7 separate regions of the Homo sapiens genome follow, and all the other regions are linked to region 3. The links are contacts of gene promoters, found by promoter capture Hi-C in blood cells and fetal thymus (Javierre and others, 2016). All regions are on one chromosome and are shown on one strand. Each heading gives the region's core, a stretch centred on a gene start or on the middle of the fragment in contact. The rest is flanking DNA. Distances are from core to core; before and after follow the strand shown.

Region 1 (2,817 bases), core at 301-2,800, 3.8 Mb before region 3:
ATTTGAGCCCAGAAGTTCAAGGCTTCAGTGAGCTAATGATTGCACCACTGCACTCCAACCTTGGTGACAGAGTGAGACCCTAACTCTTTTAAAAAAATAACAAATTAAAAATGTTAAAATAAGGCTGGGCACAGTGGCTCATGCCTGTAATCCCAGCACCAGCCTGGCCAACAGGATGAAACCCCGTCTCTACTAAAAATACAAAAATTAGCCAGGCGTGGTGGCGGGCACCTCTAATCCCAGCTACTAGGGAGGCTGAGGTGGGAGAATCGCTTGAACCCAGGAGGTGTTGGTTGCAGCAAGCTGAGATCTGGGCAACAAGAGTGAAACTCAGTCTCAATCAATCAATCAATCAATAAAATAAGTCTGGCTGCAGAGTGGAGGATGGAGATGGGAGAAGGTCAAAACTGGAAGGCAAAAAGAGAAATTAGGAAGCTAATGCTGAAATCCCTTAAGAAATACAGCACTTTAGGCCAGGCGCGGTGGTTCACGCCTATAATCCTAGCACTTTGGGAGGCTGAGGCAGGCAGATCACAAAATCGAGACCATCCTTCCTGGCCAACATGGTGAAACCCTGTCTCTACTAAAAATACAAACAAATTAGCTGGGCATGGTGGCATGCGCCTATAGTCCCAGCTGCTTGGGAGGCTGAGGCAGGAGAATCACTTGAACCTGGGAGACGGAGGTTACAGGGAGCCGAGATTGTGCCACTGCACTCCAGCCCGGTGACAGAGTAGGACTCCGTCTCAAAAAAAAAGCACTTTGGGCCAGGGTTAATCTTAGTTTTCTGTATGTGGTACGATTTCAGGTGATTTTAATTTATTTCAATTAATTAATTATTTGTGACAAGGTCCTACTGTTCGGAAGGGTCATGAACTCCTGGGCTCAAGTGATCCTCCAACCTCAGCCTTCCAAGTATCTGGGATTACAGGCACAGGCCACCATGCCCAGCTCTATATTCATTTTTATTTATCTGAATAGTGTCATTTTTCCACAATGATCATGTGTAACTAGAATAATTTTTTAAGCTCATAGTCAGTTTCACACTGCTTCAGTGAGTCAGGATTGGAGACACCCAATAAGCTTCGAAACAGCTTGCTTAGGCTTAGTACAACTGCAAAGTGAACTCAGTGTGAAATAAAATATATCACTTTCTAAAGTTTGAAATTTAGTATCTTAATAAAATTAATGCAATTCTTTTGCCTAAGACTGCTGCAAGCAGGCACACCAACCAATTAGGAACTGGGGTCACAGAAACCTGGCTTGATCCTGACCAGCAATGTGATCTTGGAAAGATCCTTCCCAATGTCTGAGCCTTATTGTCATCTTCCATTTCACTATCATAACTAATTATTCATTTATATAGTAATTACTGAATGTCTCCTATGTGCCAGGCACTTTTCAAGACAATGATAATATAAAAGTAAACTAGGGGCCAGGTGCAGTGGCTCACACCTATAATCCCAGCACTTTGGGAAGCCAAGGCAGGCAGATCACTTGAGTTCAGGAGTTCCAGATAAGCCTGGCCAACACAGTGAAACTCCATCTCTACTAAAAATAGAAAAATTAGTGGGGCATGGTGGCGCTCACCTGTAGTCCCAGCTACTTGGGAGGCTGAGGTATGAGAATCGCTTGAACCTGGGAGGTGAAGGTTGCAGTGAGCCAAGATTGTGCCACTGCATTCCGGACTGGGTGACAGAGCGAGACTGTCTCTCATTTATTTAAAAAAAAAAAAAAAAGTAAACAGGAGTTTACAAACTAAACAAGAGCTTACATTCTAATGAGAGACAAAGAATGAACAGAATAAGTAAATTCTACAAACTATTCACAAGTGGTAAAAACTATGGAGAAAACTAAAGCAGAAACACATTAGGGGGAGAAAGACAAAATTTTTTCAAAGCGTGAGAAAAAGCCCACCTCGAGAGCAACATTTGAGCAACAATTTTCATTTGTAATGAGAAAATACCGACTTCGTAAGGTTGTTACAAGCCTTGTTAACACAGCATGGGCCTCACCTGAAAGCTTGTTAGAAGCTCAGAATTTCAGGTCCCATCTCAGACCTACAGAATCAGAATCTGAATTTTAACAAGGTCCCCTGGTGATTTGTAAGCATATCAAAGTTTGAGAAGCATTAATTAAAAGGATTAAATATTTGCGTCTGAACCAGGGCTGGCATATTATAGGCACTCAATAGATTCAATAATTCTTAGTTTTCTTTCCCCATTAACATAACCCTTATATCTTTCTAGTTATAATTAAGAATGAATGGCCAGGCACAGTAGCTCACACCTGTAATCCCAGCAGTTTGGGAGGCTGAGGTGGGAGGATTGCTTGAGGCTGGGGGTTTAAGACCAGCTTGGACAACATAGTGAGACACCAACTGTACCAAAAAAAAAAATGAAAAAATAAAGATAGCATTGAGTCTCTTCAATTAATTATGAATATTAAGCATATCCTGCCATTTACTTCCTTGCAGATCTAGCAGAAAATCTGAAAATAAAGCCAAGTTGCAGACAGAAGACAAAGATAAATTCACATGCAGACAAATTCAAACTCCTGACTACATTAATGTCTCTCATTGGTGGCCAAATTTCAGTCTAATCTTTGCTAATGTTTTTCACCACCCACAAATAAGAGAGACTGAGTGTGTCCCTTGACATTTGGAGATCAGGAAGTCCACCTTAAAAAGACAAGAGGCCAAAATGTTGGGAAAATCCTCTGGTGATAAAGGGAAAGCAAAAATTGTTTAAAAACAGAACAAAATATAAGTAAATAATTCAGGTTGCTTAAGTACTGTTTTCGTTTACAGAAACAGCA
Region 2 (2,743 bases), core at 49-2,548, 4.1 Mb after region 3:
TGGGTCTCACATTCCTGCACATTTTTTGAGTGAGGCACTAACTGCCCGGTTGCTCTGGACTATCTTTGCAAGGATATCTGCATAGCGAGCAGCCTTGAAAAACAGTCTTCCTCTAAAGCGAAGGGCAGATTTGCTTACTGTCCAGCATAATACAGATGCCTCTCTTGGGGCCGAAGGCAAGTCTGCTTGTGGTCCGTTATCCAAGGTTCCAGTTTTCTAAGCTCAGGAGATCTCAGCTATGATGCAAATCCACTGGGTGCACAGCATCCACCTGGGCCACTTCACGCCATCCCTCATAGGAGTTGGGGACAAAAGAGAAATGACGCAAACTTGATGCTTGTGCTGCTTGCTGTACAGTAAGTCCTTTGTTTCTGATGGTGTTCAGGAGACACTACTCCCAAAATATGGCATCTTGGCATACTGAAAATTTTACACTGGAGGAATCTGAAAAATGACGTGCAGGTAGGATTTTCTGACTGTCCCCTGAAGCAGGTCATAAAAGCATCTCACATAAGAGGTGCCCTCCCTACACTCAGAGGAAAGCAACATCCTTATCTCAGAAGAAGGGACAGAGAGAGGAATCTGAACAAAAGACTTGCTAAGTTTCTCCTGGCTTATTACTCTTCGTTCATACCCCTTGCTCCCATCATATTTCTTCACAACTTTCCACTCTTCATCAAAGCTAACATAAAAACACTCAGGTTCAACCAGTTCTTCGGTATTCATTTTCTTATGAAGGCTCCTGTGTCACCTAAAACTTTTGTGAAATAAAAGTGTATACCTTTCTCTTTGTTAATCTGTCTTTTGTTACAGGGACCCCAACTAATGAACTTCAAATGGGTGGAAGGAAAGGCTATTGTCCCTCCCCTACATCTCAGACCCAGAAGGTTCCTATCTTCCACCAGCATCAGTGAAAGTGTGGCAGGCTAACTTGTTAGTTTCAGGTCCCTATAGCTTCTGACTCCAAACAGACCACAAAACACAAGTATAAGATGTACAATAGCCAAAAATACTTCTTAAACAACTTGCTACGGCAAAGGAGGAATTAAACTGCCTATACTTGCACACTCTTTCTGGACCATATCCTTGGGGAAAAAAACAATAAGGCAATAGATAGCAAAATCTTTCATCTGGTAAATTTCACTCCTAGGAATTCACACTATATCGGGTTCCCTGGAAACAGACTCTGAGACAGACATATATGCAGAAAACTTAGCAGGCAGTGTTGTTCAGCAGATGCCCTTCTAGGAAAACAGAGAAAGAAGGATTGGGCAGAGGGAGAAGATAATGGGCAATGTGGCTACACTAAGGCCTCAGCCACATATGAGAGCTCTGGAGTCAGGAATGCCCTTCAGTTGTTCCAAGTTGAGGCACAGCAGCTAGATCATCATTCCCCTACATGGTCTAGCCACTGGCTAAAAGTGTCCCCTGTGAGGCAGTGTTAACACTGAATAGCCCTAATTATCTTCACTGAATTACAGACTGATACGGCTGACATTAAAAATGGGAAAGTCGAGACTTTCAGAGCACAGACACATGCAATCTCCAAATTCACAGAATAGTTAAGACAACACTAGCAAAAAAGGATACACAAACATAAGTGAGTAGAAAGGAATGGGTGTACTTCATATATTCAGATATAAGGAAATACACACAATGGTGACAATCACTGTGCTTTATGCCTGGTGTTATGGTGACTGTTTTACATATATTACCTCATCTACTTCTCGGAATGTACTGGACAGGTACTATCATCATACCCAATACACAAATGACACAAAACAGGTTAAGTAACTCACCCAAGGTGACAAGTAAACAACTGGCGGAGCTGGGCATCAAACCCAGGTCTGCCTGACTTCAGAGCCCATGTGCTTAATCAACCAATCCATTCCATGATCTCCCTATTTAGAGTGTTAAAAACAACAACTCAATACAACACGTATACCAAGGACATGTCATCCATTCACCCCTCCAGACCTACTTCCCGTCTTCACCTGTTTCTCTGGCCTGGGAGGCTGACTTGAACGTAATGCACGGAAGGGCTCCTTTGCTGCCAGGTACCTGGCTCCCTTGCTAGGATGACCTTGGGCTGGCCGTACCCGTGAATGGAGGTAGCAGCTCCTGTAAGGTGCTCTCTCTACACAACTTATCTGCAGATTCGGTAGCAGCTATTCCCCACCCACCCGTTGACTCTGCAAGCTCAGGTGGTAATCACTCCCACTACACATGCTAGGAGGTGCTGCACTGCCCCGAGGGGCCCCCCTATGCCCCACCCACACCTTGATAGTCTCTCCTCAGTCTGAGAGTGTCATCTTCTCCTGCCAACATCCTGAGCTGATATACACACCTATACATAAACAGGATGCTGAGTAATGGCAAAAAGGCATTATTTACCTTCCCAGAAAGAAATGTAAAGGTCATTTTCTGGGAATAATATGCTGTATTAGGGGAAAAATACTGGAAACAAGATAGAAACAGTCCTGCTCTTTAATAAACAACTGGAAGGAACACTTTGGCAAGTTTACTTAAGGCATAAAAGTAAATTATAGCTCCAGCAGCAAAGGTCCCTTCCTCCCTGTGACCCTGCCCCTGGCACTATCTTCTCCCTCCTCACCAACATCTTGCTTCCTCTGAGAAGCAGAGAAAAAAAGTACCTTCTCCCGATCCCTCCTGGTGGGACATACTTTCTATCTTTAGAGAAGGGTATCTAACCTTCAAACAATGTCCAGAGGTCAGCCAAATG
Region 3 (2,983 bases), core at 1-2,500:
TTTTATTTTCCTTCCTTCCTTCCTTCCTTCCTTCCTTCCTTCCTTCCTTCCTTCCTTCCTTCCTTCCTCCCTCCCTCCCTCCCTCCCTCCCTTTCTTTCCAGATTCTGGACCTATTCCAGACTTACTAAAGGAAATTCTCTAAAGGTGAGGCAGTTTTTTAAAGACAGCAGCTCTCTCTGTCGTCCATGCTGGAGTGCAGTGGCCCGATCATAGCTCACTGCAGCCTCGACTTCTTGGGCTCAAGTGATCCTCCCCCTTCAGCCTCAATGAGTAGCTGGGACTACCGATGTGCACTACCACGCCCGGCAAACTAAAAAAATAATTATTTTTGGTAAAGACAGGGGTCTTGCGATGTTGCCCAGGCTGTTCTCAAACTCCTGGCCTCAAGTGATCCTCCTGCCTCAGCCTCCTAATGTGTTTGGATTACAGGCATGAGCCACTGAGCCCGGCCTAGCTACCCTGTCTGAGTTGTGCCCACTACACAAAGGTGTCAGCTACATGTGATGTCTGTGCATTTCTGGCCTGGACCGCACATTAAGTGCTCCGTAAACATCAGTCTCTATTATCAACAGTCTCTATTATCAATCAGTCTCTATTATCATCAGTCTCTATTATCATGAGTCTCTATTAAACAACAGTCTCTATTATCACAGTCTCTATTATGTGTTTTGGCTGAAAGAAAGTTCTCTAAAACCAGGAAATCAGGAATCAGCAGTTTTAAGTTCTCCAGGTTATATTTTAACATTGTGTTCATATGCAAAACAAAGGTTGTGAATCAGCACGAATGCTGGCAAGCCCTGGAAGGTTTGTGATCACGGACTTTCACGAGACCCCAAGGCAAGGAGAGACAGAAGCCCAGGACAACAGCATGGGCGCCGCTTTTTAGTCGGGCGCCGCTTTTTGGTCAGGCGCCACCTGGACTACATTTCCCATATCCAATTGCCGGGCTCCTGCAGGATTGGCCAGAACAACGCGGAAGTGATTACGGGTCGCCCAGCAACGGGCGGAGTCCTGGCCCGAAACTGGATGCGCACGCCCCTTCCCTGCGGCGGGGAGGCTGACAAGGCTCCGCTCTATCTCTAGCGCCTCGGAGCGCTCTCCGGCTTTGCTGTCTAGCCCGGCGGCAGCGCGATCTCTTAGGCACTTTCACCGCCTTCCTCTCCAGGCCCTGCCCCTTTGACGCCGGCCGTCGCGATATTGCGGAGACTGGATTTCAGCTTCGTGGTCGGCGGAGCGGCCCCTGGAGGGCGCAGTGCGCAGGCGTGAGCGGTCGGGCCCCGACGCGCGCGGGTCTCGTTTGGAGCGGGAGTGAGTTCCTGAGCGAGTGGACCCGGCAGCGGGCGATAGGGGGGCCAGGTGCCTCCACAGTCAGCCATGGCAGCGCTGCGCTACGCGGGGCTGGACGACACGGACAGTGAGGACGAGCTGCCTCCGGGCTGGGAGGAGAGAACCACCAAGGACGGCTGGGTTTACTACGCCAAGTAAGGGGGCCGCAGTGGGGCCGCGGACGCACCTGGGACCCTGCACAGCCCACGGACGCCACCTGCGCGGGGAGGACGCGCACTCCAGCGCAGCGCGTGCGGTGCAAAGTGAAAGTAACTGTTAAGGAGCTTCAGGGAAAAGGGTCCAGGGTTCCCAGTAGGGGCCGGCCCCCTTGGTGGGCCTCGGGTCCAGCGGGGGTCACCTGGTGGCTTCCCGGCGCGCCCTCTGCTGTTCAGGATGCAGCACTGCGCGGCGCGGCGAGGGCAAAGCGGCCTCATCCCCGCCAAAAAATAAAGATGTTTTAAAAAGCGCACATGCTCAGCTCCCTCCTGCAGGCTCTGGGTTGCAGGGATAGGAGTTTTGTTGTGTTTTGTTTTGTTTTGTCCAGACCGGTATTGCTCAGTCATCCAGGCTGGAGTGCAGGGGTGCCATCATAGCCCACTGTAGCCTCTACCTACTGGGTTCAGACAATCCTCTCATCTCAGCCTCTTGAGTGGCTGGGACTACAAGCGTGCACTACTATGCCCGACTAATTTTTTAAGTATTTGTAGAGACTAGGGTCGCACCATGTTGCCCAGGCTGGTCTCGAACTACTGGGCTCAAGCAGGCCACCTGCCTCAGCCTCCAGAATTGAGATTACAGGCGTGAGCCACTGCGCCTAGCCAGGAGTATTTTTTAGTAGCAGTCCTAGATAGCTTCACTATCATTTCCTGGGAAAGTTTTGGAAACCCCAGCAGAGCCTTCATCTTTAACTGTGTGACCTTGGGCCATTGAAATAACGTTTAATCTTGGTTTTTTCACCTGTAAAATGGGTTGATACGAGGGTCAGTTCAGGCACTGTGCGTAAAGCACATAGCACCGTGTCTAGTAGGTACTCTCTGTTCCTTAACTGTCGTTCCTTGATTGCTCTTAAGATACGACAGTGCCTCTTATATCGGCACCTTAGAATCACCTAGGAAATGTCCTAAATACACGTTTTGGGTCTCCATAGAGAACCTACTGTAGCCGACTCTCAACTTTGGGAGTCTCTTTTTTTAAGCTTTCCAGGTGAGGTGGAATATCACCTGGTTTTGAGAAACATGGATGTAAATCTGATTTTCAGCATCTGGGAAACTTTTTTTGTAAGAGCCTTTTTCTGGGCCCCACTTCCAGAGGGTTTTTCTTTTTTTTTTTTCTTTTGAGACGGAGTCTTGCTCTGTCGCCCAGGCTGGAGTGCAGCGGCGCGATCTCGGCTCACTGCAGCCTCCGCCTCCCGGGTTCACGCCATTCTCCTGCCTCAGCCTCCCGAGTAGCTGGGACTACAGGCGCCCGCCACCACGCCCGGCTAAGTTTTTGTGTTTTTAGTAGAGACGGGGTTTCACCGTGTTAGCCAGGATGGTCTCGATCTCCTGACCTCGTGATCCTCCCGCCTCGGCCTCTCAAAGTGCTGGGATTACAGGCGTGAGCTACCGCTCCCGGCCTTTTTTTTTTTTTTTTTAAAGACAGGGTCTCGCTCCGTCG
Region 4 (3,050 bases), core at 118-2,617, 3.6 Mb after region 3:
CTGTAGACTGGAGGACATTGCTGTGGTCACCTCTCCCCACCCAGGCACCTCTTGCTAGCTGCCTTTCTCTAGTCCAGGCAGGCAGCATGAAGATCAAGCATCACCTGCCTTGGGCTGGGGGTGGCTGGAGGACAGGAGTGAACCCGGAACCTGGGAAGGAGATTTCCCTCTTTTTCTCTCCCTGCTCATGGACCTCAAGTCTTCTGTTGGAGGTGGGATGACATATGGAGAGAGTGGAACATTTTGCACCACTTTTTAATAAGCCCTGAAGTCGTCTTTTAGTTTTCTACCTTTAGAACATGGGGAACTCATGCCTAGATGGTGATTTCTAGACTGCTAGAGAAGGCTCACTCAGTCTCCTCTTATTTTGACCATCCATCTACCCAATGATCCATCCACCCACCCTCTATCCATCTATTCTCCATCCATCCAGCCATCTACTTATTCATCCATCTGTCCATCCTCTCTCCATCCACCCTTCCACCTACCCATCCACCCACTCACCCATCCATCCATCCATCCATCCATCCATCCGTCCATCCACCCACCCATTCATTTATCTATCTACCCATCCATCTATCCATCCATTCACCATCATCCACCCACCCATCCATCTATCCATCCACCCACCTATCCATCTATTCATCTATCCAGCCACCCATCCATCTATCCATTCACTCATTCATTCATCTATCCATACATACATTCACCATCCATCCATTCATCCATTCACCCTCCATTCATCGACGTTGACTGTACACCTACTATGTGCCAGTCACTCTGGTAGATGCTGAGGATCTAGCAATGAACAAGCAAGACCAAAATTCCCATGCTTATAAAGCTTATGTTCTGGGAGGAGTCAGGCAATAACAAAATCAACAATGAAAAGATATAGTGGGCCAGGCGTGGTGGCTGGTGCCTGTAATCCCAGCACTTTGGGAGGCTGAGGCGGTAGATCACTTGAGGTCAGGAGTTGGAGACCTACCTGGCCAACATGGTGAAACCCCATCTCTACTAAAAATACAAAAATTAGCCAGGTTTGGTGGGACCTAGCTACTCGGGAGGCTGAGGCACAAGAATCGCTTGAACCCGGGAGGCAGAGTTTGCAGGGAGCTGAGATGGTGCCATTGCACTCCAGTCTGGGTGACAGAGCGAGACTCCATCTCAAAAAAAAAAAAAAAGAGAGAGATGGAAAAGATGTAGTACCTTAAAAGGATAAATACGGTAGAGAAAAATTAATCCAAACAGGGGACTGGTGAGAGTTGAGGAGGGGTATCCAGGTGGGGCTCACTGAGAAGGTGACATTTGAGCAAAAACCTGAGGGAAGGGAGAAGGGAGCTGAGTGGGTATTTGGGGAAAGAGTATTCTAGGCAGAGGGAACAGCCAGTGCAGAAGCCCAGAGGTGGGAGTGGGCACAGAGTGTGAGGAGCAGGAGGAGGGGATGCAGCCAGGGCAGAGTGGGCACAGGGGAGGAGAGGGGAGGGCCGGGTCAGCGGCTGCTTGCGGGCCTCTGGGTGTCATTGGTTTCACTGTCCATCCGCTCGGTCCACAGTAGCTCCACATGCACTGCAGCACTTGCTGCTCACCGGGCCCCTTGCTGAGGGTTCCCCTGTGCACGTGTCATCTCATCTCCAAAATAGTCTCATCATTCTCATTTTATAGATGAGAAAACTGAGGCCTGAGCCTGTAAGGTGAACCATGAGGGATGAGAAGGGAATAGGCTGGAAGTGGGTATTTGGGGTGGGTCGGGCAGAGCCCAGGCCTACATGACATTCTCTGGGAAGAGGCAGCCAGGCCTTTGCCAAAAACCTCCCTATGGCTGCCCCAGTTGGCCCAGGTTCTTGAACCTAGAAGAACCCAAATCTTCTTGTCACAAACTCTCTTGGGGAGGCAAGAAGCTTCTCTGTTCCCAGCCTTCCAGGATGACCAGCCCCAGCGGGCGTGTGTGTGGTGGGGTGGGGGAGAGGGAGGGACAGAGCCAGGTTTTTCCTACCAGGCAGGCCCATGCAGCTTGCGCGTGGGTGGGTGAGAGAAGGGTGGGTGGTTCTTAGCAGAAGGAGATGATGCCAAATGGGCCCAGGAGGTGGCCAATAGCATCCAGAGGCCAGAGCTGCTCTGGCAGAACCAGGCACTGGCTCCATCTCACAGTGGTCCAGGGGCCACATTTGAGCCTCCCTTGGCCTGTCTTGGCAAGAAATAGAGAGCAGACATTTACAAAATGTTTGGTTATTCATTTGACAAATATTTACATGCGTCTACTGTGTGCTAGGCCCTGGGTTCTGTACTGAGTAGATGATGAGTGAGTGGGTGGATGGGTGGGTAAATGAATGAGTGGATGACTGGGTGGATGGGTAGCTGGATCAATGGATAGATAGATGGATGATGGATGAATAGATTGGTGGGTGAGTGGATGGGTGAATAAATGGGTGGGTGTATAGATGGATGTGTGGATTGTTGAGTGACTCATGGATGGATATATATTAGTTGTTTATTGCTATTTAACAAATCATTTTAAAATTTGTGGCTTAAAGCAGAAAATATTTATTATCTCACTATGTCTCTGGCTCAGGAATTTGGGATTGCCTAGCTGGGTTGTTCTGGCTCAGGGCCTCTCACACGGCTGCTGCAGGATGGTGGCTTGGTCTGCAGTTTCATATGACAGCTCGCCTGGGGCTGGAGGATCCACTTAATGATGGATCCCTTGCACAGCTATTAACAGGAGGCCTTGGTTTCTCATTACACTGGCCTCTCTGTAGGCTATGTGAGTGCCCTCATGATGGCAGCTGGCTGTATTCAAGGTCAGTGATTCTAGAGAGAAAGAGAAAGACCAAGATGGAAGCCAAAGTGCCTCTGATGACCTTGTCTCCGGGTCTTACACCATTACTTCTGGTTTTTCCTTTTTTTTTTTTTTACCTGTTAGAAGCAAGTCACAAAGTTCCACCCAAACTCAAGGGGAAAGGAAGTAATTTCCACCTCTTTGTGTTTTTTTTTTAAGACAGGGTCTCACTCTGTTGCTCAGGCTGAAGTGCGGTGGCGCAGTCATAGCTCAC
Region 5 (3,019 bases), core at 126-2,625, 4.6 Mb after region 3:
GACAGGGAGAAATCAGGTTTCTTCCAGCCCAGCTTCTGGTTGGAATCACTCAGGCAGAGACACATGGGCCTGAGAGAGGATTCCCCTTATGACATAAAGCCGCAAAAATTCTCATTAGTCATTGCAAAAACATCTATTTCCGGCCTACACTGCACCAGCCAGTGGGGGAGGTCCTGAGAGATAGAGAAAGGATGAATTCTTGCCCTTAGAGAGTCACCTAGAGATTCTGGGGAGACAGCAGGTCCGAGTCTCTCTGCCTGAAACCTCTGGACAGTGTCTTTGGCTGACACTTACATGGTGGTCTTGGTTTCTTATTCAAGGTCGGTTTCCCAACTCTCATAGCATCAGCTTTAGGGCATCCCCAAATCTCTTGCAGAAGAGATGGTTCTTTCCCCTTGAGTTGTTTTGAGCCAAGCATATAACATTGTGTGAATGTTTGAAAACTTCTCTTGGTTCTCAGAATGCAATTCTGACAGTGCTGAAGGCTGCCAATTAAATGAAGATTTAGATAAAGGCTGTGTGGGAGGTGGAATGCAATATTCTTAAACCTAATAATGGCTTCCTTCTGTCTTTTTGAAGCTCTCAAATAATCCTGATTGACTGACTCTCTGCTTTGGGCATTCCCATTTTCTGGACAATTTAATACCATTTAAAATGTTTGACAACTTTTATTTGGGGGCAGACATCCTTAGGGGATGGGGCCGTGGGCAAAGATACAAATGCTGTACCATCAAAGGAACCATGGATTTAAATAAGGATTTTTTTTTTTTTCATATTCAGAAGAGGTGGGTACAGAAAGGATGAGGGCAGCTTCTCAGGTTATAGTATTAACCACGTGAAGCAGCTAACAAAGGTATGTGCCTGGCCTTGTGCTAAAGGCTTTCCTCGTATCAGTTCTTTCATCCCTCCCAACACTACTGAGGTAGATGGAGTGACTAGATCCATTATACAGGCAAAGTAGCTGAGGCCCACAGCCATAGCAAATAAACTGTGGAGCTGGTGGTCCCAGATTTCATGCTTTTAGTCATTCTCTTGGCTCTGGGGTACAGGTAAGCTTCCAGAACTGGAGGATGGAGTCCAAAAGAAACTCAAGATAATTTCCCTGCCTTTCCCATTGTATCAGGGGATTCATCTGTTCATACATTCATTCATTTTCCCAACACATTTACTGAATGCCCGCAAGCACCAGGAAAATAGCAATGGGCACAACCAGGTTCCTATCTTCATGGAGCTATTGCTTTATTGGCAGAGGCAAACAGTAAAGAAAATTCATTAGTAATCAGTGTTGCAATCAATGAGCCGGTCAATCAAGCACCATAAAAGGGTAAAGTGTGACGAAGGTGCTCCTTGTGATAGGGGTTGGGGGTGAGGGGAGGTGTCCTGGAGAGGAGACATTTCAACTGAGATCTCTCTGAAGTAGATGAGATGGCCATGTGGATCTCAAAAGGAAAGTGTATGCCAGGAAGAGCAAAAAGCAAGTGCAAAGTCCTAAAGCAGGAAATAGTGAGGCTACCGCAGTGTCGGGTCCAAGAGTAGGAGATGAGATCAGGGAGGCAGATTAGGCTGCAGGGAGGGTGTGCGTGTGATGCTGAGAGTGATGGGAAACCACTGGTGGGGTTGGGGGAGGGCAAGGCAGTGACATCATTTGTTTTTATGTGCAGCAGAGGAAGCCAAAGCAATTCAGAAGAAGCCTACAGAAGCTTACCTCCTCCACAGGCTATTTTTTTCTTGTTTACATTTGTTAATTTTACATATATATTAACTCAGTCCTCACAACCACCAAATGAAATAGGCATTGCCCTTATTATCATTCTTTCCCATTTTAACAATGGGGAAACTGAAGCTTAGAGTAGGCAAGGTCGCCCAGATAGGAAGCAATGCCTTCGGGTCATGGCTCACTACTCAAGTGCCTGAAATTTCAGCTAGCCTTTAGTGGGCACCTGCTATGTGCCAGGATCTGTATGAGGTTTGGCACCACCTAGACAGCCCCTTGAACCAGTGGCATGTCTCAGGACAGTGTGAGAGACAGAAACTTCAGCTGAGAGTTACCGTGCAAGGCAGAAAATGCTGGTCTAGCAAAAGGAACTCTGATTTCGATTTGGAAGTACAGAGAAAGAGCATCTGCCTTGGACAGAGTTATCAGTGAAAAGATGACATATGAGCTGAGACTGAAAATCATGTTGAAGATAGTCAAACAAAAGCTGGCAGTGTGGGAGTGGGGGCTTCAAGCAGAGAATCAGTGGTTCAAAGGCACAGGGTAGAAGGAGAATGGCAGCTGGCTCAGTGTGGCTGGAGAAAGAGGCTGGAGTGCACCTGGTTGCATTTGAATGGTGTGCGTGTGTGTGTGTGTGTGTGTGTGTTAATGATGGTGATGAGATGAGGGGCTAGAGAGGAAGACAGGTTGGCACCTGGTAGCATTTTTTAAAAAGCAAGTAAACCTTATTTTTTAGAGCAGGTTTAAGTTCACAGCAAAATTTGGTGGAAGGTACAGAAGTTTCCCAAGTACCTCCTATCCCCACAAATGCACAGCCTTGTCCCACTATCAACATCCCACATCAGAATGGTACATTTGTTACAGTCAATGACTCTACATTGACACATCATTATCACTCAAAGTTCACAGTTTACATGAGGGTTCACTCTTGGTGCTGTACGGTGTATGGTGGATACATGACAAATGTGTAAATTCATGTATCCACCATTATGATATCACACAGAATAGTTGTACAGCCCTAAAATACTTGCTCTGCCTATTTGCCTACCCACTCCCTTCTCCCTAACCCCTGGCAATCCACCGATCTTTCTTCTATTTCCATAGCTTTGCCTTTCCCAGAATGTCATATGGTTGGAATAATATAGTATGTAGCCTTTTCAAATTAGCTTCCTTCACTTGGTAACATGCATTGAAGTTTCCTCCATGTTTTCTTATGGTTTGGTAGCTCTTTTTTTTTTTTTTTTTTAGCATTGAATAATATTTCATTGTCTGGATGTATCACAGTTTATCCATTGACCTACTTAA
Region 6 (2,700 bases), core at 21-2,520, 3.4 Mb after region 3:
GGACCTGGTAGAAGGCAAAGCTGTCCCAGGGTACCTCAACTGCTGCCAGCCAGGACTGACTCGTCTTGAAGGTACCCAATTGGTGTTTTGTTGGCATGGACATTGCAGGGGGTCAGCTTACACCTTTGATTAAAGGAATACATGAGATTAGGTGAGGCAGCCTGATATGGGGCATCTCCTCTGTGGGGGAGAACAGATTTGGGTTTTGCGTTCTCATGGCGCTGGATCTGGATTTGAAGGGTGCAGTTTCCTGGCTGTGTGACTTTTGGTGCTTTGCTTTCCCTTGCTGGGCCTTGTTTTTCCTCCATCCTTAGGGAGAGCACCTCATGTCTAGGGTTGCTGTAAGGATTGGAGAGGATAGATAAGCACCTACTAGTATAGTCAGCATACAGTGACCAGGATTCCAATTCCTGTTTTGCTAATTGCCCTGAAAGAGCTTCATGACTTTCTGCACAAATGGAAGGGATTATTGTTACCTAAAAATGGGTGGCCTCCAGAGAGTTCCCTGAGATGAATAGTGCATTGGGGAAAGCTAGGGGTGTTTAGCAGGTCTCATAGGTAGGAAGGCAATGAAATTCTTGCCAGCAGTTTAAGAAAAATTCCTTGCGGGGCGTAGTCTAGTTTCTTAAAATAAATTACAAAAATTGAAATACTCATGTATGCATCAGGTAGATTTGATTAGTATAACAAGGTGTTTAATGAAAAATGAAGCTTCCCTTACTCGACGTCCACACAGCCCCTAGTGGCCCTCCTTGGAGGCAAGCACTGCTGCTCATTTCTTGTGTATCTGGACATGCATGCACACAGCTGTCTACCGTGGTTCTTCACTGGACAGTATATTTTGGAGACCCTCCATGCGTGTGCAGCTGCCTTGTTCTTTTTCATTGCTGCATAGTGTTCTGTTGTAGAAGTGTATCACAGTAATGTAGGTAGACCCTCCCCTGTTGATGGGCATTGAGGTTAGTCCCAGCCTCTTTGATATGGTTTGGATGTGTTCCCACTTAAATCTCATCTTGAGTTGTAGCTCCCATAATTCCCTTGTGTTGTGGGAGGGACCCAGTGGGAGATAATTGACTCATGGGGCGCTTTCCCCCATACTGTTCTCTTGGTAGTGAATAAGTCTCACGAGATCTGATGGTTTTATAAGGGGAAACCCGTTTCGCCTAGCTCTTTCATTCTCCTCTTGTCTGCCACCATGTAAGACGTGCCTTTCACCTTCCACCATGGTTGTAAGTTCCCCCCAGCCACGTGGAACTGTGAGTCCATTAAACCTCTGTCTTTTGTAAATTGCCCAGTCTCAGGTATGTCTTTATCAGCAGCGTGGGAACGGACTAATACACTCTTGTTCCTTGAAAGAAAACATTTTCTATTTTTACTGAATGGAGTTGTCTCTATTTTGATGTTCTTTTGCTTAATTCTTTGGGATGGGGGAGCTGAGCCTCCTTTTGAAGAGGGAAGGGCAGTGTTTCCTGGGGTTATTGCTACCTGGAGTCATGCTTTGTTCTGGCTGAAAGGTCACCAACCAGGGATCCCCCTCAGAGGGTCTGGCCACTTGGTCTTCCCTGCAGCTGAAGGAACATAGGTGACCAGGGGGCTCTGACAAGGATGCGCTGACTTCCACCCACAGAACAAGGGTCTGTGCAGCTCCACCTGAGGGCATTGCTTTTTGTTCCCTGACTTCCTGCTTTCCCCAGGATGGAAGCCAGGCCACCCAGCCCCATGGTGGAGGAAGAGAGGAAGTGAGAGTTTCTCTTCCTTGCTCCTGGCTCTGGTGATGAACCACCCAGTGTATTCAACAGGCACCGAGGGAGACTGTGCGCATTTTGAAAGGAAGCTTCGCTTACATCAGCAGAGCCCTAACCGAAGGGTGATGAGACGTGCGTGTGGGGGAGGTGTTTGCTGTGTGTATTGAGGCAAAGGAGATGGCAGAGAAAATATTTCTGGTGCTGAAATTGGTTCCTGACTTCAGTAGCCATTTCGTTACCCCTCCCATGTGCACAGCGCTCGTCCTGGCATTTGGGGTGTGCAGTGAGGCCACAGGAAGAGAACACGGCAGACCCAGTGGAGTAGGGGAGTGAGGACCTGGACTTTGAAATCAGACAGGGGAGCTTGAATCCTGCCTCTGCAGTGTCCCAGGTGGTGACCTTGGGCAGGTCCCCTAGCCTGTGTCCTTATCTGTAAAGCGAGGATCAGAGAAACTTCCTCTTAGCATTGATGTCAGGGTAAATGAGGTGAGGCCTGGCGGTGCTTTCATGCCTCCATTCAGCAGTTAAGTGTCACCGTTCTAGGCACTCGGAAGAAAACAGGAGCCTGCCCTCGTGGAGCCTGTGTTGGTGGGAGTGGACAAACAACTAAGTTAAGAGCAAGTAATTATAAAATCCGATGACAGGGATCGTGGAGAAAAGCAAGCAGGGTGGGGCGAGTGGTGGGCTGCTTTGTACATAGTGGTCAGGGAAGCGGGTGATAGGACTTCCAGGGGGAAGAGCGTTCCAGGTAGAGGGAACAGCAATTGCAAAGGCCCTGAGGGAGGAGATCATCTGTGGAAATCACCCAGTAAAGTGGCTTGCACCTGGTACATGTTCTATGATTGTCAGTTTCCTTCCTCCTGCTCTGTGGAGCTGTTATTATCTGTTTAAAAAATTAATGAGTATGTAGAATGTGCGAGGTGATGGACACACAGGCAGCTCCTTGCCCCGTAAA
Region 7 (2,954 bases), core at 38-2,537, 3.7 Mb after region 3:
ATATTTTATTTTTTATTTTTTTGCGATGGAGTCTCATTCACTCTGTCATCCAGGCCGGAGTGCAGTGGTGTGATCTTGGCTCCTGGCAACCTCTGCCTCCTGGGTTCAAGCAATTCTCCTGCCTCAGCCTCCTGAGTAGCTGGGATTACAGGCGCCTGCCACCAAGCCCAGCTAATTATGTGTATTTTTAGTAGAGACGAGGTTTTACCATGTTGGCCAGGCTTGTCTCAAACTCCTGACCTCAAGTGATCCATCCGCCTTGGCCTCCCAAACTGCTGGAATGACAGGCGTGAGCCACTGTGCCTGGCCTTCATTAAATAAATTTAAAGAAATAGATGAGTGTTACCAATTCAAGCAATGAAGTATTTGGAGGGCAATTTGGTGTTTCTGTCAAAATTGTTTTGGTATGTGTCCAGCATTTACACAGCAAATGATTTATCTTTCCCTGTGGATATACTCACCCCACTGTTCAAGGATACATGTCCAAAGATGCATTGCTTATGAAGCAAAGACACAAACCTAGAAAGAGCTGAGATGTCCCTCAATGGACAGCTGCTTCACTTAAGTGTAATCCATCTACGCGGCGGAATGCAAGGTACCATGGTTGAGAAAAAGAAAGCTGGCTGGATTTGCTGACCTAGAAAGAGATCTGCAATATACCGTTAAGTAAAAACAACAGTAGAATAATATGATCCCATTGTGAAAAAAAAAAAGTTAAAAACACATAGAGGTATCTATGTTTTAGCAAACATAGAAAACAATGTATAAGATCCAGCAATTTGGCTGGGTGTGGTGGCTCATGCCTGTAATCCCAGCACTTTGGGAGAACAAGGCGGACAGATCACCTCAGGCCAGGAGTTCAAGACCAGCTTGGCCAACATGGTGAAATTCCATCTCTGCTAAAAATACAACAACAACAACAAAAATTAGCTGGACATGGTGGCGGGCATCCGTAATCCTAGCTACTCAGGAGGTTGAGACAGAAGAATCCCTTGAACCTGGGAGGGGAAGATTGCAGTGAGCTGAGATCTCACCACTGCACTCCAGCCTGGGTGGTGATAGAGTGAGACTCTGTCTCAAAAAAAAAAAAAAAAAAAATCCAGCACAGCAATCCCACTTCTGGATATTTACCCAAAAGATTTGAAATCAGTTTGTTGAAAGATGTCTGCACTGTCAGGTTCATTGCAGCATCATTCATAATAGCTGAGTTATGGAATCAACCTAAATGTCCATCAACAGATTAATGCATAAAGAAAACGTGCCACATATTTACAATGGACTACTATTCAGCATTTAAAAAGCAGAATGGGGACTGGAGATTTTTTTTTTTTTTTTTTTTTTGAGATAGAGTCTCCCTCTTTTGCCCAGGCTGGAGTGCAGTGGCGCGATCTCGGCTCACTGCAAGCTCCGCCTCCCGGGTTCATGCCATTCTCCTGCCTCAGCCTCCCGAGTACTTGGGACTACAGGCGCCTGCCACCACACCTGCACCTGGCTAATTTTTTGTATTTTTAGTAGAGATGGGGTTTCAACATGTTAGCCAGGTTGGTCTCGATCTCCTGACCTCAAGATCCACCCACCTCAGCCTCCCAAAGTGCTGGGATTACAGGCGTGAGCCACCGCACCCAGCTTTTTTTTTTTTTTTTTTTTTTTTTTCAAACAGAGTTTCACTCTTGTTGTCCAGACTGGAGTACGGTAGTGCAATCTTGGCTCACTACAACCTCCACCTCCAGGGTTTAAGTGATTCTCCTGCCTCAGCCTCCTCAGTAGCTGGTATTACAGGTGCATTCCACCATGCCCAGCTAATTTTAGTATGTTTAGTAGAGATGGGGTTTCACTATGTTGGCCAGGCTGGTCTCAAACTCCTGACCTCAGGTGATCCACCTGCCTCAGCCTCCCATAGTGCTGGGATTACAGGCATGAGCCACTGCCTCCAGCCTGGAACTAGAGATTGATGGCCAGGGAAATTCTGTCATTTGCGACAACATGGATAAAGATGGAGAACATTATGCTAAGTGAAATAAGCCAGGCCCAGAAAGACAAGTGTCACATGTTCTCACTTATATGTGGAATCTAAAACAGTCAAACTCATAGAAGCAGAGAGTAGAATGGTGGTTACAGAGGCTCGAGGACGGGAAATGGGGAGATGGTGGTCAAAGCATACAAAATCTCAGATAGGAGGAATATGGGTTTTTTTTGAGACCTATTGTATGGCGTGGTAAATGTCATTAATAATAGAGTATGGTACATTTCAAAATTGCTAAGAGAGTAAATTCAAACAGTCTCATCACAAAAAAGTTAAGTGTTTGAGGTGATGGATATGTTAACTAGCTTTAATTATTCCACGTTGTATTCATAGATCATAATGTCACTTTTTACCCTATAAATATGTAAAAGAGTCCGGGTGCAGTGGCTCACAGCTGTAATCCTAGCCCTTTGGGAAGTCACGGTGGGTGGATCACCTGAGGTCAGGAGTTCAAGAGCAGCCTGGCCACCATGGTGAAATCTTGTCTCTACTAAAAATATAAACATTAGGTGGATATGGTGGCAGGCGTCTGTAATCTTAGCTACTCGGGAGGCTGAGGTGGGAGATTTGCTTGAGCCTGGGAGGCGGAGGTTGCAGTGAGCCGAGATTGTGCCACTGCACTCCAGCCTGGCCAACAAAGCAAGAGTCTATCTCAAAAAATAAATATAAAAAAAATATAATATATGTATATAATATATATAAAAGAGCTAGGATTTGAACCTGCAACTCTTCACTGTGATGTAGGCCCCGTCTATCACGTATGAACTATGAGCCTGCTGAGTGCTGGGTGCTGAGCTGGGAGCTCCCACTGTTCCCCAACACTGCGTCTCAGAGTTCCCTGATGCTGGAAGCCTGGAGGCCCTCACAATTCTAGGGTGTTTTTAGAATATCATTGTGGGGTGAAAGCAGGTTCCAGCTTCCCCAGGTGGAA

What was found. The method cuts DNA at HindIII sites, captures the fragments that hold promoters and counts their contacts. A CHiCAGO score of 5 or more calls a contact.
Region 1: a fragment that was not itself captured here is called in contact with the fragment with the promoter of WWOX in region 3 in 5 of 17 cell types (activated CD4 T cells, non-activated CD4 T cells, total CD8 T cells and 2 more); the score reaches 8.4 in activated CD4 T cells.
Region 2: a fragment that was not itself captured here is called in contact with the fragment with the promoter of WWOX in region 3 in 4 of 17 cell types (naive CD8 T cells, total CD8 T cells, activated CD4 T cells and 1 more); the score reaches 11.0 in naive CD8 T cells.
Region 4: a fragment that was not itself captured here is called in contact with the fragment with the promoter of WWOX in region 3 in 2 of 17 cell types (activated CD4 T cells and non-activated CD4 T cells); the score reaches 8.6 in activated CD4 T cells.
Region 5: a fragment that was not itself captured here is called in contact with the fragment with the promoter of WWOX in region 3 in 1 of 17 cell types (total CD8 T cells); the score reaches 5.0 in total CD8 T cells.
Region 6: a fragment that was not itself captured here is called in contact with the fragment with the promoter of WWOX in region 3 in 3 of 17 cell types (activated CD4 T cells, naive CD4 T cells and naive CD8 T cells); the score reaches 10.1 in activated CD4 T cells.
Region 7: a fragment that was not itself captured here is called in contact with the fragment with the promoter of WWOX in region 3 in 6 of 17 cell types (non-activated CD4 T cells, total CD4 T cells, activated CD4 T cells and 3 more); the score reaches 16.9 in non-activated CD4 T cells.

What each region holds. Positions count from the first base shown.
Region 1 is chr16:74,293,270-74,296,086 of GRCh38, forward strand. No RefSeq gene overlaps it. Among named protein-coding and RNA genes, the nearest start is that of PSMD7, 2.1 kb to the right of the region's middle. RefSeq lists an enhancer at 2,778-2,817. The HindIII fragment of the contact is 939 bases long and covers 1,082-2,020 here.
Region 2 is chr16:82,160,413-82,163,155 of GRCh38, forward strand. All of the region lies in intron 2 of MPHOSPH6 (M-phase phosphoprotein 6), which reads right to left. Among named protein-coding and RNA genes, the nearest start is that of MPHOSPH6, 8.4 kb to the right of the region's middle. RefSeq lists enhancers at 316-460, 2,719-2,743 and a cis regulatory region at 388. The HindIII fragment of the contact is 3,410 bases long and covers 1-2,743 here.
Region 3 is chr16:78,098,404-78,101,386 of GRCh38, forward strand. It overlaps WWOX (WW domain containing oxidoreductase), which reads left to right and starts at 1,251. Exons shown (of 9, transcript NM_016373.4): 1 at 1,251-1,482. The coding sequence starts at 1,376. RefSeq lists an enhancer at 1,485-1,984. The HindIII fragment of the contact is 3,217 bases long and covers 1-2,520 here.
Region 4 is chr16:81,732,955-81,736,004 of GRCh38, forward strand. No RefSeq gene overlaps it. Among named protein-coding and RNA genes, the nearest start is that of PLCG2, 45 kb to the right of the region's middle. The HindIII fragment of the contact is 1,057 bases long and covers 840-1,896 here.
Region 5 is chr16:82,653,977-82,656,995 of GRCh38, forward strand. All of the region lies in intron 1 of CDH13 (cadherin 13), which reads left to right. Among named protein-coding and RNA genes, the nearest start is that of CDH13, 29 kb to the left of the region's middle. RefSeq lists enhancers at 1-703, 1-123, 1-154, 205-254, 495-544 and silencers at 1,448-1,742, 1,677-1,726. The HindIII fragment of the contact is 646 bases long and covers 1,053-1,698 here.
Region 6 is chr16:81,450,130-81,452,829 of GRCh38, forward strand. All of the region lies in intron 1 of CMIP (c-Maf inducing protein), which reads left to right. Among named protein-coding and RNA genes, the nearest start is that of CMIP, 6.7 kb to the left of the region's middle. RefSeq lists an enhancer at 1,606-1,945. The HindIII fragment of the contact is 1,123 bases long and covers 710-1,832 here.
Region 7 is chr16:81,749,345-81,752,298 of GRCh38, forward strand. All of the region lies in intron 2 of LOC105369213 (a long non-coding RNA gene), which reads left to right. It also overlaps a transcript of PLCG2 not described here. Among named protein-coding and RNA genes, the nearest start is that of PLCG2, 28 kb to the right of the region's middle. RefSeq lists an enhancer at 2,722-2,954. The HindIII fragment of the contact is 7,152 bases long and covers 1-2,954 here.